Regions from separate parts of the Homo sapiens genome. Here region 2 is linked to region 1. The links are contacts of gene promoters, found by promoter capture Hi-C in blood cells and fetal thymus (Javierre and others, 2016). All regions are on one chromosome and are shown on one strand. The core of a region is centred on a gene start or on the middle of the fragment in contact, and the rest is flanking DNA. Distances in the headings are between cores, read along the strand shown.

Region 1 (3,073 bases), core at 319-2,818:
CCACCTGCCTCGGCCTCCCAAAGTGCTGGGATTACAGGCGTGAGCCACAGCACCTGGCCAAGTCCTTCTCTTGTACTCCACTCCAAAACACTTTGTACCCTCCCCGCCTTGATGTCTTTGATTTCTAGCTGTAATATTCTATCTAAATCTTACCAATCTTGGAAGCTCTCCATTTCAAGGAAGCCTTAGACAATCATTCTACTCTAAATAAACCTCTCCACTGAACTTCCCCAGTATTTATGGTATGCTCTAGTCATCTTGTCCCCTTATCCCATATTCTAGTGAATTTCTTAAATCTTTAATCTGGGTTTATGTTATTTCTGTAAGCAGAATCTAAAGTTCTTAGAAAAATAAATGGTTTCAAGCACAGTTTTGGAACTGCCTATAATATCTAGCATAATGTTAGTACATAGCAGGTCCTGAAGAAATACTTCTTGCATTGAAATAGAAAAATAGAATAGTACCTGAGGCATAAAGGATGATTACAAGGTGCAAAGGTAGGTACATAAGAATGAAGCAAACAAGTTCTGGTGAAAAAGAAAAGGGTGAAAAATGAGAAGTCAGAAGTCTGCAGTAGTGAAGACAGCACTAGTAAATCTGGTTTGAGGATTGCAGCAGCTTAGACTCCATAGGAAAACTTGAAAGACGAATTGTTAATTACTGCAGGCAGAGGACAGAGGGGTCACTCCAGTGCTGCGGAAAGAGCCTCAGTAAAGTTCTGACAACTATAAAGGCAACTAATGAGTCATGAGGAGAGCATATTGTGACTTCCATCAGCTATAAAACATCAATAAACTTAATACACTTTTCAAGTAGTGTCATCGGATGAGCATTAACGTCTTAGTGAAATGACTCTTCGCAGGACTCCATACAAAATCTAAATCAAAGATAGTCTTGCCGGTTCTCATATTATTCCAAGTCTCTTCACTCTCTGCCCTCCCAGTCTTCCCCTGCCTACTCGGTTCCATTAAAAATGTAAGCGTGTGGAAAACTTTGTCAGCAGGTGTTAACGTGGCTTTCAAGTTTTGCGTATATCAATCCCCTCCTAGATATAGTCAATTGGATAAGTGACAGATCCTGCTTTTCCTACCAGCCGTATGAACACGGCTGCAAATCCAGCTCCAACCCATAGGGAAGTCCCTGCCACGCGCCACCCACCCATTTGCTCGGCGCCTGCCACACCTTCCCTCTCCTCCCCTTCTAACTGCTCCGATCCCACGGGGGAACCTCTGGGTCCACGGGGTCGAGAAGGCCGCCAGCAGCGGCATCTCATTGGCCAGCTTCTGGAACTGACAGAACATGCAGCCAATGAGATCGCAGTACCGGAAAGTAGCCGGGTTACGTGCTTAAGGAGAGCGGCCTTCAAGAAGAGAACGAAGTTGGGGCGGAAAACAGGAGCTCTCCCAGCGCAGAAAGCCAGGCGAGCGACGACTGCCAGGCAGTGGGACCAGAACTCACCCACGGCGACAGAGCCCATAACTGCATCCCCTCATGGGCCTTTGGGCTGGGCAGCCAGCTCCGTCTTCCTCCTGGTGACGAATTGAGAGCGACGGAGTCGAAGCCAGAGTGACCCCTGGAAAGCAATAACTTCCGGAACGCGGCATTATGGGAAGTGGCTAGGCCACCACCACCCCACCCCCACCTCCCGGGACCATCGGCTCTGACGCTAGTAAATCTGCGCCTGCGTGCGGCTTGCGCCGGATGTTCGGGTTTAGGGGTTTGGTTGTCAATGGGTTTTCTCGTCTCTGACATAACCACGAAGTTATATAAATGCTCCTGAAGTGTGGGCATCCGGTGGTGGTCTGAGCCTTGGAGTTTCCTAGATGGTTACCTTTCTGGAACACATTATATTTGGAGCTAAAAGGGGGAACGCTTAAATTTGTTTCCGTAATTCTGTCCTGTCGACTTCTAAAACTGAGTACCTAAGTTGTCTTGAATTTACCTTCCTGCACCATGTCAGAATAAAAAACGCAGCGAGTGATTTTTTGTTTGTTTGAGACGGAATATCCCTCTGTCGCCCAGGCTGGAGTGCATTCTTCTGCCTCAGCCTCCCGAGTAGCTGGGACTACAGGCGCACGGCACCACGCCCAGCTAAAATTTTTGTATTTTTAGTAGAGACGGGGTTTCACCAATTGGCCAGGCTGGTCTCCAACTCCTGACCTTGTGATGCGCCCGCCTCGGCCTCCCAACGTGCTGGGATTACAGGCGTGAGCCACCGCGCCCGGCCGCGAGAGTGAATTTTTAAAGCAAAACCGAAAGACGGTGTCAGATAAATTGCGGGGGAGGAGGGGATTTTCAAATATTTACTGTCCATTCTTTGAAAATTTGTAAGTGCGAGCCCTGGCGCGGTGGCTCACCCCTGTAATCCCAACACTGGGAGGCCGAGGCGGGTGGATCACGTGAGGTCAGGAGTTCGAGACCAGCCTGGCCAACGTGGTGAAATCCCGTCTCTACTAAAAATACAAAAAATTAGTCGGTCGTGGTGGCGGGCGCCTGTAATCCCAGCTATTCGGGAGGCTAAGGGGGAGAATCGCTTGAAGTCTGGAGGCAGAGGTTGCAATGAGCCAAGATCACTCCATTGCACTCCAGCCTGGGCAACAAGAGCAAAACTCCCTCTCAAAAAGAAAAAAAGAAAATATGTAAGTGCACACTTTGTGCCAAGCCTTTCCTCAAATGAATTAAACATAGGCCTCTCTGCCCTGGAGTCTTAGTTTAGTAGAGAAGATAGTAATCGCTACCGTGGGGGTCGGGGGAGTTGCAGATAGCTATAGAAAAATAGATATGTAAACAGGTAATTCACCATAAAAGAACAATTGGTCATAAAATAAATGTCCATCCTTACTAATCAGATAAAAGGAGTTTAAGATGGTGGCATACTAACCACCAGAGTAACATTTGGTTAAATTTGGGGGAAAACTAGCTCTCTTGCTTTTTACTGCTGAGATAATTTTTGTTTTATTTACTTATTTATTTATTTATTGAGACCGGGTTGCACTCTGTTACCCAGGCTGGAGTGCAGTGGCACGACCTCAGCTCACTGCAACCTCCACCTCCCGATTCTCCCACCTCACCC
Region 2 (3,073 bases), core at 304-2,803, 140 kb after region 1:
AAAAATACAAAAAATTAGCCGGGTGTGGTGGCATGCACCTGTAGTCCCAGCTACTCAGGAGGCTGAGGCAGGAGAATTGCTTGAACCCAGGAGGTGGAGGTTGCAGTGAGCCGAGATTGTGCCACTGCACTCCAGCCTGGGTGACAGAGTGAGACTCCATCTAAAAAAAAAGAAAAAAAAAAAAGAAATTATTGAAGGCATGAAAGTTTGAGGATATATTTCTCCATACTTTATTAATACATCAAAAGGTCGGAAATGTGAATTCCAAGAAAATTTCTAGTGTCCAGTCCATTGTACCTGATCTTGAAATTGCCAATGCTCACCGTAAGCTTTTGGTCATAATTGCTGAAAATGTTGATGGAGAAACTCTAAGTACACTCATTTTGAATAGGCGAAAACTTGGTCTTCAGGTTGTAGCAGTCAAAGCTCCAGGGTTTGGTGACAATAGAAAGAACCACCTTAAAGGTATGACAATTGCTACTGGTGGTGCAGTGTTTGGAGAAGAGGAGTTGACCTCAAATCTTGAAGATGTTCAGCCTCATGACTTAGGAGAAGTTGGAGAGGTCACTGTGATCAAAGATGATGCTATGCTCTTAAAAGGAAAAGGTGACAAGGCTCAAATTTAAAAACGTATTCAAGAAATCATTGAGCAGTTGGATGTCACAACTAGTGAATATGAAAAGGAAAAACTGAATGAACAGCTGGCAAAACTTTCAGATGGAGTAGCTGTGCTGAAGGTTAGTGGGACAAGTCACGTTGAAGTGAATGAAAAGAAAAACAGAGTTACAGATGCCCTTAATGCTACAAGAGCTGCTGTTGAAGAAGGCATTGTTCTGGGAGGGGGTTGTACCCTACTTCGATGAATTGGTGCCTTGGACTCATTGACTCCAGCTAATGAAGATCAAAAAATTGGTACAGAAACTATTAAGAAAACACTCAAAATTCCTGCAATGACTATTGCTAAAAATGCGGGTGTTGAAGGATCTTTGATAGTCCAGAAAATTATGCAGTTCCTGAGAAGCTGGTTGTGATGCCACGGTCAGATTTTGTGAATATGGTGGAAAAAAGGAATTATTGACAAAACAAAGGTTGTGAGAAGTGCTTTACTGGATGCTGCTGGGGTGGCCTGTTAACTACAGCAGAAGTTGTAGTCAAAGAAATTCCTAAAAAAAGAGAAGGACCCTGTATTGGGTGCAATGGGTGGAACGGGAGGTGTTATGGGAAATGGCAAGTTCTAATGATTAGAATAGCGTTTTACTTTAATTAATGAACTGTGGCAGGAAGCCCAAGGCAGTATTCCTCACCAATAACTTCAGAGAAGTCAGCTGGAGAAAACGACTGAAGAAAAGGCTAGCAGATGTTTAGGAAATCACTATAACAATCAGTTACTGGTTTCAAGTGACAAAATATATAATGTTTTACTGCTGTCACTGTCCATGCCTACAGATAATTTATTTTGTATTTTTGGATAAAAAGACATTTGTATATTCCTAATACTGGGTGCGAGAGCACCTATGGTTCCAGTTCCAGCTACTCAGGAGGCTGAGGGAGGAGGATCGCTTGAACCCAGGAGATCAAGTACAACTCTTTCTATATATATATATTTTTCATATTTTTACATAATAAAATTCTATATGGCAGTTAAGAGGAGTAACCTAACCATATATCAAAACATAAATCTCATATAATGTTGACTGAAAAAGAAATTTGAAAAATATGTCCAACCTAGTACCAGTTATGTAAATTTTAAAATACACCGTATGTTGCTTATAAAGATATGAATGTTTATAAACGTATAAATACAAGATCCATGTTTTTACATGGATTAGATGGACATACACTAAATCCATAAGAGCCTTGGAGAGAATGTTACACAATTAAACTGAAGGCAAATAGAGAAAGAACATCCATCTTATTTGTAATATTTTAGTTCTTGTATTTAAAAAATATTTTAAGGAAACATGAGAAAATACTGTCATTTCTGGGTTTAAAACTTGGGGTTTTGAAATTTGTAACCCAGCCGGGTGCGTTAAAGGCTCACACCTGTAATCTCAGCACTTTGAGAGCCCAAGGCGGGTGGATCACCTGAAGTCAGCAGTTTGAGACCAGCCTGGCCAACATGGGGAAAATCCGTCTCTACTAAAAATACAAAAATTAGGCAGCCGTGGCTGCAGGCGCCTGTAATCCCAGCTACTCCGGAGGCTGAGGCAGGAGAACCGCTTGAACCTGGGAGGCAGAGGTTGCAGTGAGCCTAGCTCGCGCCACTGCACTCCAGCCTGGGGGATACAGCGAGACTCTGTCTCCAAAAAAAAAAAATACATAAGTAGAAATAAAATAAAATAAAATTTGTACCTCAAATACTTTTCTGTATTTTTATTTCTCAAATTTAAAAAACGAGCTGTAAAAATGTTTCATTGCGAAACAAATTTCAGAAATTGACTCAAAAAGAATGCAAATACTTGAATAGTCTAATAACTTACAGATGTTCCAAAACATCAAAGATCCATTCACTCAAAAAGGCACCAAGCCCAGCCAGTTTTAAGGCTTTCTACCTAATGTTCCAGAAACAGTGTCCTAACTCACATAACGAGGGTAGCGTAATCTTGGTAAAAAAAAACGGAGCCAGATTATTAGCCTCCCCAATTCAGCAGTGTATTAAACCGCATCATCTTGCTTAAGGTTTATAAAAAGAGTGCATTCATGATTCATCAGGAAGGCAATTTATAAAGTACAGTAAAAAAACGAGGAAAGTCTTCATCTTTATAGCGTAAAGCTTAAAGTTCAGCTGACAAAAAAACAGTAAAATTTATTATGTATTTTTTCAAATCCTTGCAAACTAGGAATAAAACAGAATTTCCAAATATCATTAGAATGAAGAAAGAACATTCACCTTAGTCAAAAACAACTCAGAATGCCCACTATCAGGTTCTAGTTCACAGAATAAAATTTAAATGTTCCAAAGAAGAAAGCAAATGTCAATAGTCACGGATTATACAACTGTCTACTTAGCAATTTCAAGGAGAGCCACTGACAAATTTAGAATTAAGACCCAACAACAACACACTGGTCGCCC

The links. The method cuts DNA at HindIII sites, captures the fragments that hold promoters and counts their contacts. A CHiCAGO score of 5 or more calls a contact.
Region 2: a contact is called between a fragment that was not itself captured here and the fragment with the promoter of USP16 in region 1, in 1 of 17 cell types (total CD8 T cells). The highest score is 6.0, in total CD8 T cells.

Annotation. Positions count from the first base shown.
Region 1 is chr21:29,023,163-29,026,235 of GRCh38, reverse strand. USP16 (ubiquitin specific peptidase 16) reads right to left here and starts at 1,568. Exons shown (of 18, transcript NM_006447.3): 1 at 1,459-1,568. RefSeq lists an enhancer at 1,303-1,692. The HindIII fragment of the contact is 4,939 bases long and covers 1-3,073 here.
Region 2 is chr21:28,885,445-28,888,517 of GRCh38, reverse strand. It overlaps the pseudogene HSPD1P7. Among named protein-coding and RNA genes, the nearest start is that of HEMK2, 1.6 kb to the right of the region's middle. RefSeq lists an enhancer at 2,734-3,073. The HindIII fragment of the contact is 2,444 bases long and covers 332-2,775 here.